Regions from separate parts of the Homo sapiens genome. Here region 1 is linked to region 2. The links are contacts of gene promoters, found by promoter capture Hi-C in blood cells and fetal thymus (Javierre and others, 2016). All regions are on one chromosome and are shown on one strand. Each heading gives the region's core, a stretch centred on a gene start or on the middle of the fragment in contact. The rest is flanking DNA. Distances are from core to core; before and after follow the strand shown.

What was found. Contacts are between HindIII fragments. The CHiCAGO score rates a contact against its expected background, and 5 or more counts as called.
Region 1: a fragment that was not itself captured here is called in contact with the fragment with the promoter of LCORL in region 2 in 1 of 17 cell types (total CD4 T cells); the score reaches 5.5 in total CD4 T cells.

The regions. Positions count from the first base shown.
Region 1 is chr4:24,587,346-24,593,967 of GRCh38, reverse strand. It overlaps LOC124900682 (a long non-coding RNA gene), which reads left to right and starts at 454. Exons shown (of 2, transcript XR_007058078.1): 1 at 454-974; 2 at 4,563-5,381. The HindIII fragment of the contact is 1,128 bases long and covers 3,589-4,716 here.
Region 2 is chr4:18,019,402-18,025,680 of GRCh38, reverse strand. LCORL (ligand dependent nuclear receptor corepressor like) reads left to right here and starts at 3,926. Exons shown (of 8, transcript NM_001394446.1): 1 at 3,926-4,083. The coding sequence starts at 3,930. RefSeq lists an enhancer at 3,295-3,554 and silencers at 3,605-4,064, 4,385-4,714. The HindIII fragment of the contact is 12,000 bases long and covers 1,664-6,279 here.

The DNA of each region.
Region 1 (6,622 bases), core at 2,903-5,402, 6.6 Mb before region 2:
CTCTTTACACGCCAGAGCTGAAACTGATAATTCCACCCTGGGCTGTTTTTTGTTTAGTATCTTGGCTGAGTTTTCAGGGGATGGGAAGTGTGTGCAACTTCCTAAACTTCCACTTGGAATTCCCCAGTATGATAGCTCTTACCCCTTACAGATCCAGAATTTAATATGGGGGTCGCACAAACTACTAATGATGTTTATTCTATGTGTATGTTTGTATACTGGGGGCATAGCAAGTAGTTTGAGAACGCTGTAGACTTACCATGAGCTGGACCTGGGCCAGACATCCAGTCTCGATTTCCATATATCTCCATGCTAAGAAAGGGCCAATAATGAAACTCTGAGTCTCTTGGTATCAATGTCATTTTACACACTGTGTCCATGATGTCCTTGAAATCGTTAGATATTCCCTTTTCTCCAGTGTATGGCCACCTAAGTAAATGGCTATAGATCACTTGAGGGAAGGACTTGGGGAATTATTACTGTGTACACTTGTGCTGGTGCTGCAGAGTTCTTTCTTCTAGGGACATGCCCTCTCCCTCCAATTAAATATATTCTAGGTCCAAAAACTGGTTCAAGTCCAGAAACTGGGCAAGTGATCATGACTTTGTATCAGAGCATCAGCCTTTAACCTCTTGATCATCCATTGTTGGCTTAATTTGGTTGTTCAGATTGAAGACTTTCTTTGATGGTTGCCCATTTCTTTTGCTCCAGATGGCTTATTTGTCATCTCCAAAACATCTGTGGGTAAAGCCCCCTGGACTGCCGCTCTTGCCTTGCAGTGTCCATTTGGCTGTTGAAGTTTGAGTGCCATCATGTCACTTCAGTGTTACAAGGTTCCATCATCTCTACTGTTCTCAGTGAACCCAGTTCTGAAATGGTATCTTCTGTCTTCACCCTGGACTACAGGGAGAACCACTGCTGAGTCTTAGAGTGATGCTGATTCCTCTCTAACCAGATAATGCCTTATTGATTTGGTAAGTGGTGTATACTCTGAACTTTCCTTTGAAATATATTCATCTGTTGGGTTTTCCATTTTTATATAAGTATATTCACTCTAGCAAGCTCACTTCTTTGAGCCATTTAGTCCCTCCTTACAATGTAAACCAAAGCAGTTTTGGCATCTCTATGTAACCAGGTGTACTGTGAGCCATTGATTTCTCTGTGCTTCTAGATGACATCCTAAGTGTGTTCACACTATCACCCAGGATCCTTGCATGAGTGTTAAATCTTGTATGCTAGGAGAGTATTACCAACTTGATAAATTCTCCCTTATCTAACTGTATGCTCCACCTCCCCACCCTGACATTCATAACCTTCAGAATTCGGTCCTTGGCCAGACGTGGTGGCTCACGCCTGTAATCTCAGCACTTTGGGAGGCTGAGGCGGGCAGATCACCTGAGGTTGGGAGTTCAAGACCAGCCTGACCAACATGGAGAAACCCCATCTCTACTAAAAATACAAAATTAGCTGGGCGTGGTGGCACATGCCTGTAATCCCAGCTACTCAGGAGGCTGAGGCAGGAGAATCACTTGAATCCAGGAGGTGGAGGTTGCAGTGAGCCAAGATCACGCCATTGCACTCCAGTCTGGGCAACAAGAGCGAAACTCTGTCTCAAAAAAAAAAAAAAAAAAAAGAATTTGGTCCTGTGCCAACTCCTCTGGTTCCTGCTGGTACCTGTTGGCTGGGTCCTACAGCTTCTTTGAGTAGGATTGTATGCCAATATTATGTGTCCTCTGATGTATTAGTCTGTTCCCACGCTGCTAATAAAGACATACCCAAGACTTGGTAATTTATAAAGGAAAGAGGTTTAATGGACTCACAGTTCCACATGGCTGGGGAGGCCTCACAATCATGGCAGAAGGCAAAGGAGGAGCAAAGGCACATCTTACATGGTGGCAGGCAAGAGAGCATGTGCAGGGGACTCCCCTTTATAAAACCATCAGATCTCCTGAGACTTACTCACTATCAGTAGAACAGAATGGGAAAGACTCATCCCCATGATTCAATTACCCCCCGACCAGGTTTCTCCCAAGACACATGGAAATTATGGGAACACCAATTCAAGATGAGATTTGGGTTAGGACACAGCCACACCGTATCAGATGTTCTTGGAATATCATATGTAGTGATATGACCTTGTATCATGTGATACTTATATCATATACTTTTTTCTGCCTTCCCACTGTAAGAAATGGCAGTCAAAGGAACTTTACTTACAGAAGTTTTGGAGACAATAAATTAAATAAGGCATCTGGAGGAAAATAAATGGACAAACGTCAAAGGAAGTTCTCAATCTGAACAACCAAATTAAGCCAAAGATGGATGCTTATGATATACTTATATCATATGTAGTGATGTCCCTGGAATATCATATGCAGTGACTTCCTGGTTTATGTATCCTGAAAAGGGTGGTAGACGTTATTCTGCAGAGAGGAAACCTCTGCATCATTTTACAAGAGAGGAACACGAGCTTTTAATACAGAAAAGTAGAGTACTTTGGCAGACTCAGTGGGTTGAGGGGAATCTAGGGATTCAAAATTTTTCAAGTACATCAACCCAGATGTCCCCACCCATGTGTCAGAGTCCCACTATTTCCCATCCAGGGTCCTAACCTTGGTATATCACAATTGCCTAAGTGGAGAGTTTAATCTTCTTTGGAAGTTTCCACTTAATTTTCTGCTACTATTATGTTTAAGTCCTGGAACTGCCTTTCAGTTTTCTCTGCCTTTCCACTGCAAGAAATGAAAACCTTTTTATATGCTCCCTCATAGGATTTCTGGTTTTCATGCTTAGTTTTGAATTGCAGATAAATAACTTCCAGCCTTTCATTATCTCTCCCCAAAATATTAATTCTACTTAGCAATAGCCATCAAATTCTAGGGAGCTTATAGTTACCAGTTCCCCCATATGTGAGAACTGCATGCCTTTTGCAGTACACCACATGCTTTTTTCCCAGTAAGCTACAGGTGAAAGTTTTAACAATTGCCCTGCTTCCTTGTGTCCTACCTCCACCACAGATTCATTGCCAGCCAGCAATGGGTGACCAACTCCAAAATCCAATCATAATGTCTGCTTTCTTTCTGGCACCACTTCTGGCACCAAATCTTTTAGGTCGGCTTCCATGAAAACTAGACTCTGAGGCAAAGATTAGCATTTAGAATGTTTATTAAGAAGTACATTTAGGATCAATATCAGTGGAAAGAAAAGATAAAAGTAGAATCAGATAAGGAAAAGTTGACTGTGATGCTGTTGCATGACAATGAATTTGACTGGCCTTTATCCCTGGTTCACGGGATTGGTTCATTTTAAATCCTTGGGGTCTCCCAAGTCATAAGAGTATCTTTGTTGCTCTCTTTAGTGAATATGCAGTGACTTCCTGGTTTGTGTATCCTGGTTTATATATTCCCTTTATTCTCTTTATGTATTCCCTTTATTCTCTTTAGGTTTATGTATTCCCTTTATTCCCTAAAGAGTTACTCTCTTTATGTTGGGCCCTTGGACGACATCTGAATTAGTGCTAAGGAGATAACTCAGGATGGGAACTGGTCATCCCAGAAAGACCAACCATGTGATTAAAGGGTTGAAGCTTTGAGCCACATGTTATCAGCCCAATCTCTTGACCTTTAAGCAGGGAAAGGAGGCTGGAAATTGAGTTGAATCATGGAGCCAATGATTCAGTCAATCAATCATGGCTACATAATGAAACCCCAATAAAAACTGCAGACACTGAAGCTCAGTGGAACATCCTAGTTTGTAAGGACATGGATGTGAGGGAGGGTCACATGTTCTAATTCCATGGGGAGAGGACACAGACGCTCTGATTTGTTTCCTTTATAATAAAACAGCAACCATAAGTATAGTGCTTTCCTGAGTTTTATAAGTTATTCTAGTAAATTATCAAATATGATGGAATTGTGAGAAACTCTGAATTTGTAGCCAGTTGGGCCGGAGTGCTGGTGGCCTGCAGACCCCTGAACTTATGGATGGTGTCTGGAGTGGGGACATCTTCAGTCTTGCTTGGGACTGTGGCCTTAACTTGTGGGATTGGAGGTAACTCTGGATTGTTACTGGCCAAATTGCATTGGGGTACATCAGATGCCATTATAACAAAGACTTCAGCTGATCCCACAGAGGGTTCAGATGCTCTGAAGCTCACAGTTGTCCTAAGTTGGTAGACAGGCCAAGCCTTTATACCTGTAGAATGTATTCAGGCTGCCCCTGGGCATGGCAGCTTTCTTTAGCCATGGAAGTTTCTGAAGAGGGCTGACACGAGGATCGTGTGCAGGTGGCAAGCACTCCCAGAGCTGAGGGATGTCTCATTATGAAAGTGAGATTTTGATGGCAAGCCATAGCACCACTATAGTTTGTAACTATTTCTGTCTCTTACTAGAGAGAGGATAAGGTGATTAAAAATAGTACTGAAAATTCTTTCAAATTTGTAAGCATTTTGTTGCTAAAGAGGATTCAAAGAGGGAGACTGGTGGATTGATCCTGGCAAATCCTCATGAGTGATCATGTTGTTTTCCCACTTAAATCTCATTTCTGTTTTCCTCTTGTTTTAGGAAGGATAAAGGCTTACCTCCTCAGCAGGACTCCTCAGATGGGGCATGATATGCCCTGTTCTTGCATCTGCAGGATCACAGATGACAAATTCCTCATCTCAACACATCCATGTTGTTTTCTCTGTCTGTGGGTCGCACCTGACTTTTTAAAGCTTCAGGGCCTTTGCACAGGCTGTTTCCTCTGCTTGGAATGCTTTCTGCCCTCTCTGCCTGGACAATTTGCATTCTTTTTTTTTTTTTTTTTGAGATGGAGTTTTGCTCCTGTTGCCCAGGCTGGAGGGCAATGATGTGACCTTGGCTCACCGCAACCTCCGCCTCCTGGGTTCAAGCAATTCTCCCACCTTAGCCTCCCGAGTAGCTGGGATTACAGGTATGCACCACTATGCCCGGCTAATTTTGTATTTTTAGTAGAGATGGGGTTTCTCCATGTTGGTCAGGCTGGTCTTGAACTCCTGACCTCAGGTGATCTGCCTGCCTTGGCCTCCCAAAGTGCTGGGATTGCATTTATTTTTAAGGTTTTTGTCTAAATGTTTCTTTCTCAGAGAGGCATTCCCTAACCCTCAATGTAGATCAAGGCCACTTGTTATATGCTCTCACAATGCCTGTCGTCTGTAGCTGGCCTTTTCAGCACTTATCATCGTGATAACAACATAGTTATTTATGTGTTTAGCTGTTCAGTGCCTGTCTCTCTCCCTCTGCCACGTTTTATGAAGGCAAGAACTATGGCTATTTTCTTCTTTCCTCTTTCCCCAGCACTTAATGCCTGACATGGGAGCTTAATACATATTTGTTGATTGAATAAATAAATGGTAATAGTGATACTGTACAATGGTCAATAGTGCGGCTCTAGAGTTGGACTGGGTTCAAATAATCCAAATCCCCACTTGTCCACTGAGAGTTCTGTAAACTAGTTCTCTACATGGACAATGCAGAAGTTTTATCAGTTCATGTTCATCTTGTCAGACTGGGAGAACTTATCTTCAGTAACCACACCTTAGACGAATAAAGTGGAACGAGAATATCTATTTATCAGCCGCAGCAGAACATAGCAATTAAGCACACACACTGTCTGGGCTGAATCTCAGAACTGTCATCTTGGCCAAAATACTTGCCTCTTTGAGTAACAGTTTCCTCAGCTGTAAATAAGAGTAATTCATTGGACTAAACTTGAAGTTGCTGTAAGTCTCAAATAGGCTCAAATGTGTAAGGAACAGCATCTGGCTCATAGTGCTTTGTATGTGTTTGCTATTAGCAATTATTTTTTATTAATTTAGGTTGACTTGAGACCCTGCAGCTGGTTAGCTGCATAAGACATTTCCTCCAGGTGAGAAAGTCCATGTCATAGGCCAGAGGGTTGTCTAGTAGAGAAAGAGTAACAGTAAGGGAAAATAGGATATTATCTGGAAATATTTCCAGCCAAGTTTGTGGAGGGCCTGGTGGGTGCCTTTTCTCTACTCCAGGGATAATGATGTCTGAAAATCCAGGGTGGATCATTTAGACCTAGAATTCTACCCTTCTTCCCAAGGAGTGTGCACATCCTGGCAGCCTCTGGCCACTTGTTCCCCTTATTCTAGATTCCAGAGAGGTCACTATCCTTCAATAAGTAGGGCCTTTCTCTTTCCTCCTTTCCTTCTTTTCTTCCTTTCTTCTTTCCTTCCTTTCTTCCTTTCTTTCTTTCCTTCTTTCCTTCCTTTCTGTCTTTCTCTCTTTCTTTCTTTCTGATGGCGTCTTGCTCTGTTGCCCAGGCTGGAGTGCAGTGGCACAATCTTGGCTCACTGCGACCTCAACCTCCCGGGTTCAAGTGATTCTCCTGCCTCAGCCTCCTGAGTAGCTGGGATTACAGGCATGTGCCACTATGCCTGGCTCATTTTTGTATTTTTAGTAGAGACGGGGTTTCACCATGTTGGTCAGCCTGGTCTCGAACTCCTGACCTCATGATCCACCTGCCTCGGCCTCCCAAAGTGCTGGAATTACAGGTGTGAACCACCACGCCTGCCCAGGGCCTTTCTTTAATTGTTCAGGTCACAACACAACTGATGAGGTTATGGTTTTCTTTAGCT
Region 2 (6,279 bases), core at 2,677-5,176:
CTGTTTATATCTTTAGTTCTCCTTTTTTTGGAGAATAGGGTAATCTTGCACTTCCCGAAATGTGGTAGACTACAAAAGTGGCCACAAATTATTTATTTCCCTCTGTCCAAATCCCTTTGCAATGTGACTTGCAGATCCTTCTATTAAGAGGTAGAATCTATCTCCCCATATCGACTCTGGGCTTGGCCATGTGACTTGCTTTAGCCATTGAAACCAGAGCAAATGTGACTCAAACTGAGATTTGAAAAGTGTGCATGGGGACTTCTTCTCTTGCAGCACTTTGGATCCCTCTGACTGCCACCATGTGAATAAGCTAGGGCTAGGACTGGCCTCTTGATGATACTTGGCCTCATTGCTCTGTGTTCCTAGCTGACAGTCAGTGAATCCTCAGAAACAGAGCTGCCTTGCTGACAGGCAGCTGACCACAAACACCTGAGTGAGTCCAGTAGAGGCCAACAGAAATGTCCAGCTGAGCCTAGCACAAATTTTCATTCCACAGAATTATGAGCTAAATGATTAGTTGGTGTTTCAAGGTACTAAGTTGTGGGGTAGTTTGTCCTGCCCTCAAAGCTATCTAATATATAACTCCTTAAAAGTCAGGCATGACCATAAAATTTGCTTCATCTACTGAAATGTGTCACTTCTGGTAGAAGCCTTTAAGAGTTGGACTGTGATTTAGCATCATCTTTCTCGTCATGGTGACTGGGGAGCTTCCAAATGGCATAGCCCCAGAAGCCTCAGTCCCGAGATGGACATGAGGCTTATAGGGCTCATGTTCTTTCCACCCTTTTCCACACTGACCTTTGGAAGACAGATAGTGTACTATGAAATAAACTTTTGTATTAACCTTTGTATTAAATCACTGAGGTTTTGAGTTTACTGGATTTTGGGTTTGTTACTGGAGCAGAACATAGCACATTCTAACTAATATATAAATTGGCACCCAGAAGGAGGTACAGTTATAACAGAAAATCTAAAATATGTGGCTTTAACTTAGAGGCTCAGTGGGTGGTAGCAAGGAAATTGTCAGAGGCTGGAAAGTTGGAGATGCTAACTGTCGTAAAATATTTGCTGAAACGGTTCATGTGTGTCTCCCATTTTTCTCCTTTCTAAACAGGAATGTTTACCATATGCTGTGGTTTGAATTTGCCCACGAAAAAGCACATGTTGGAAACATAAACTCCAATGCAACAGTGTTGGGAACTGTGGCCTAATGAGAAGTGACAGGCTATGAGGGCATAGTGAATGGATTAATGCTATTATCAAGGGAGTGGATTCTTTATAGCAGGAGTGAGTTCATTATAAAAGGATGAGTTTGGCCCCCTTTTACTCACTTGCCTTCTCTTTGCCTTTCCACTGTGGGGCCATGTAACAAGAAGGCCCTTGTTAGATGCCAGCACCCTGATCTTGGACTTTCTAGGCCCTAGAACCATGAGCAATAAATGTCTGCTCTTCATATAAATTACCCAGTCAGCGGTATTCCATTACAGCAGCACAAAATAGACTAAGACACCATGTCTATTTAGTCCCTATTCCATCACTGTGCGTGTGTGTCTGTGTGTGTGTGTGTGTGAGAGAGAGAGAGAGAGAGAAGAGAGATCGCGAGTGAGAGAGATCTGGGGAGAATACCTTATCTTTTTAGTTGTCTATAACAAGAGAAGCTTTATCCAGTTCCAATATGGAGACTACCAACCATCACCCAGAGATGCCAGACTTTGAGATTAATGCCTTTACTGAACAGAACTTTTGGATTGTCTCACTTTGTGATAGGAGTAAATCTATTTTGTAGTGTGAAGAAAGTGAACTGTAAACTGGTGACCAGAAGGATAGATCACAGTAATCCTTGATACTATTTACCAATAAATTCTGGTTATCTTCTTTTTGCACATATAATAGGATCGCACTTCCCTGCTCCCTTTAAGATAGATACGCCCGAATAATTCGCTTTGGTCAATGAAATGTGAGAACTGACTTGTATCACTTTTAGGAAGAACCAGTTCGCCATTCTTCATCTTCCTTTTGCCTATCACCCAAGGGGGGACGTTGCAGAGATTCCAGCCTCTTTAAGGATCCAGTTGCTTAGTGAGACCACATGGAATGAAGCCCCCTCCTCCTGCCACCCAGAGATGAACATGTAGATAATCAGGAAATAGTTTTTTGTTGTTGTTTTAAGCCACTAAGATTCTTGGATCATTTATTACTGCACCATAATTTTTCCCATCCTAACTAATGTAGATTACTATAAAAGTGATCAGGAAAACTGCAAAGGCTGATCATCGTGGCAATTGTGAGTGGAAGTGGTTAACTAAAACCATCCACTGACAATTCCAAAATCACCTTCACTAGTGATTTCACCTGCACTCCAATTGTGACCGTTCTAGAAAAGGTGATTATGCGTTCAAACTTTATTATTTTTAACTTATGAAGATGCAAAATTACATCTTCACTACTGAAGTCATAATGAGCAAAGAAATACTTTCTCATAGGAAGAAAAAGAAGGTGGATAAGGATAAGCCACAAAACAGGGAAGGTGGTACTGAATTCAGAGTTTATGAGATTTCCAAGAAGAATTAAACATATTTCCCACAGACTTGTGAATAAATTTCCAGAAATACACAGTACTTCTTAGCAAACGTTGGGTAGCTTAGCTTCGGCTTGATAAACTGCACTTATACGGAAACAAACGCACAATCGCTCTGGTGCAAAAGTAAAAACTGTGATTGGAGTCTGTATTTAAACGTAAGATTCCTCTCTAGCTCTCTCTGAAGAAGTTATTTTCTCTAGCACGTGGTAGAATTCATTCCATTAACCTTTGTAAAGTGCTTAATCCCGTGTCACGCACTGTACTAGGGTCTAGCGAGTGACAGATGTCACGGTACAGAGATCTCAGTGGGTCGCTGCCCTCCAGGAGCTTATAAAGAAAATTTTCCTTCTGCAGTTTTCAGCCGGCTACACCCAGTCCCCTGCAAGTAATTTTCAGTGAAAAAAACCCGCATCTTTTTCCTAGTCCTTGCAAATATTCTGGCTTTCCGAGATCTCTTCGCCTTGAATACCGAAGTCACTCCGGGATCTCTCTCTGGACGTTTGGCAGTTATTCCAGATGTAGCCGAATGACCGGCTTGCCCTTTCCCTGCGGAGTGACAGGAAGACAGCGACCCCGGAAAGTTTCCAGCACTTAAAACGCAAAGCGCAGCCTGAACCCACAAGGAGCCGACAACTCTTGCGGCTTCCACCACCCTTCTATCGCGGAGCCTAAGGAAGCTAAAGCAGTCGGGTCAGACCCGGCCACCGGGCAGCGCATGGTTCCGGGCGCAGGGAGCGACAGACTCAGCCCCCCAGCGGCGCGGCGCAGAGAAGTTGCAGGCCAGCCTGCATACCCAAGTGCGGGGGGGAAGAAAAACAAACAAACAAAAAAAATCCTTTCTTCTGGACTACAATGACCGGCAAGCAACGCGCCACGGCGCCAAGTTCAGCTTCGGGATCCTGGCGAAATGGAGCCTGGGAAGTGAAGTCTCCGGACTGTCGGAGTCCCGTAGTGAAGGCAGAAAGTAGGCGTTGCTAGTCCGCTCCACTAGCACGCCGGTTCCTGGCTGGGCTCCGGGTCTCTCGCTCCCGCTCAGGGTTTTCGCGGGCGGCGGGAGCGGTATGGCTCGCCTGAGTAAACTCCAGCGGGAGGGGGAGGAGGGTAGTGGGTGGGGAGGCGGGGTCAGCGGAAGCGGCAGGTTGCTTCCTTCTCCTCTGGCTCCCTCCCCGCCTCTCCCTGAGGGAGCGGTGGGAGGGGGAGGGCAGGGCAGAGGGAAGGTAGTGACACGTGTCAATCAACCCCCCTCCGGGGGGCGCGCGCTCCGGGGCTCGCGCCGAGGGCTCGCGCCCCTGCCTCGTGCCTGCGCTGCTCGTATGTAAATGAGGGCGCGTGACGCGGGACGCAGATGGACAAGGGAAGAGAGAGAATGGCCGCTGCCGCCGCCGCTGCTGCCGCCGCCGCCGCCGCCGCTCAGTGCCGGAGCCCTCGGTGCGCGGCGGAGAGAAGAGGATTCCGGCGGGAACTCGACTCTTGGCGCCACCGCCTCATGCACTGTGTAGGTAAGAGAGACGCGGGCCGGGGCCCCGGGCTCCGCGCGGCGACCGCTGTCGCAGCCCGAGGAGTTTGTGGCTGAGGGGTTTAGTTGAATCTCCCGTTCGGGTTAGTTCGGTGGGGGAGCGAGATGGGAGCGGCGCGGCGCGGCGGCCCCGGCGCTCGCCTTTTGTCTTGCGGGCTGCTGGCCCGGCGCGGTCCGCGCTCCTTCGCCTTCCCAGCTCTTGGGCTCCCCGGGAACTGTTAGTTTGGACCCGCTTGCTGAGCCCCCGCGGAAGCCGCCCGCTCGCTCTCTCCCCGAAACTCCTCGGCGCCCGTCGCTGCCCGCCGTCGCCCGCCGTCCACCCTGACAGGACGGAGGAAGCGGCCCGGTGGGTCGGCGCCCTGGCGGAGGAGAGCCGGCGGGCAGGGCGGCCGGAGGAAGGCGGGCTGGTCCGCGCCCCCGCCGAGCGCACACACACCCCCTTGTCGCCGCCGGGGGCCGGGTGAGCAGACGCGGCCAGTTCCCGGGGACCTGGACCTGGAGACCCACGGGCACTCGCAGGGCGGGGGCCGCTGATGGGCCGGCTGGGGGCGAGGGGCGGCGGGGGCGTCGTCCGAGGGGCGGGGGGCGCCCAACTCTGCCCTCTCGCGCTCGGCGGCGGCGCTGTGTGTACCCCTTTAAGAAGGAGCCGCTTGAGCGCTGACGGTTGGGATTTGAAGTTCTTCCTCCCTCTTTGGAAGTCTGGACGGATGGGGGGTGTTGCCACGGCAACGACACCCTCCCCCCCGTCTGCTTGCGGACGCCCCGACGACTCTGGTCCTCTTTCACTGTCATGTGATGGACTCTTCCTTACACACACACACACATATACACGCATACGCATCGCCCTCCCCACCTCCCATCCCCATTCAACTGCAATTCCCTCTTTTTGGTTGGATCTGAATCGTTTTGCCTCAAACTTCTGGGCTTGGGGCTCTCACCCTGTGGATTGTTTAGGGTGACAGGAATGGTGGGACTCCCGACCTTGCTGCAGTCGCTTTTTTTTTTTTCTTTTTTTGCCTAAGACGAATGCATAGAGCTGTTATCCAGCAGGTTGGTTTAGTGGGCTTAGAGGGGCGAACACGGATTATGGAATGGGGCGCGTTGTGGGTGTTTGTTTTGGAAGGGGGTTATGGGTGGGAGTGTAGGGGAAGAGGTAGAAAGGAAGGTTGTATTGTGTAAGCAGTGGATAGTGGCAGCAGCTTGCTCTACTGGCGAGTGAATCTTGGCATTTGGAGTTGGGGAGTAACCCTAGTGTCTTAAGAAAACAACTCTCTTACCTTGTTTCCATCTGCTCTGGCACCACCTCGCACCCCCGACCCCGCCTCCCATGTATTTGGTTAACGTCTTAAGATCTTTTTTTGACTAGTAGAGAAGAGATCGTATTAGGTTAAACTTAATACAATTTCAGTTCAGAAATGTGTACCGCAGAACGCGATGAATATAGGAAAATGTATGAGAAAGGAAGGTTACTTTAGGGGGCATTTAAGTGATGTTTAAGTAATTTACTGCTTTTGTTTTGCCCTTACGAAAAATGTATTTTGGTCTTCTCTAAGGAAAGATGATGAGAAATAGCTTTAGTCAAGTATTCGTAAGTGATTTTAGTTTATGAAGTGTAAAAAAAAACCTCTAGGTATTCTTTATATAAATTGTTTAAAAAACTAAATATTGTTGTTTGTGCTTCTTGAATACAAAATGGGCTGTTTTTGATAATTGCTTATGTAAAGATCTCTTCTGGAAACCAATTTAGAAATTACTGAGCTCATTTAGGTAGAATTAGGTAGGATGACAGCATTGCAACACTGGCTTATGATATTACTGTTAAGTTTTGTCAAGGCACAAAGTGATTTGAGGATGTCTTTTTATGTTTTGGAATATTTTGGTTGGTTTTTTTTTCTGGTCTTCTTGCTTATTTAGATACATTAAGTATAGCTTTGCATCATAAAAATAGATAGACTTGAAAAATAGTCAAACTTTAAATGAAACACAATTCATTGGATTTGATGGAAAAGGGGACTAGAATATCTTTTTGCCTTACCTACTTGTATATTCAAGTAAAATTGGAAGACATTGAAAGTTACTACTGTATTACACTTTTATTGCAATATGTGATTACATTGTATCGTATGTGAAAAGAAATTTTGTCCCTGGCTTCTAACTATATTTGAGAATTGTTTCCCAC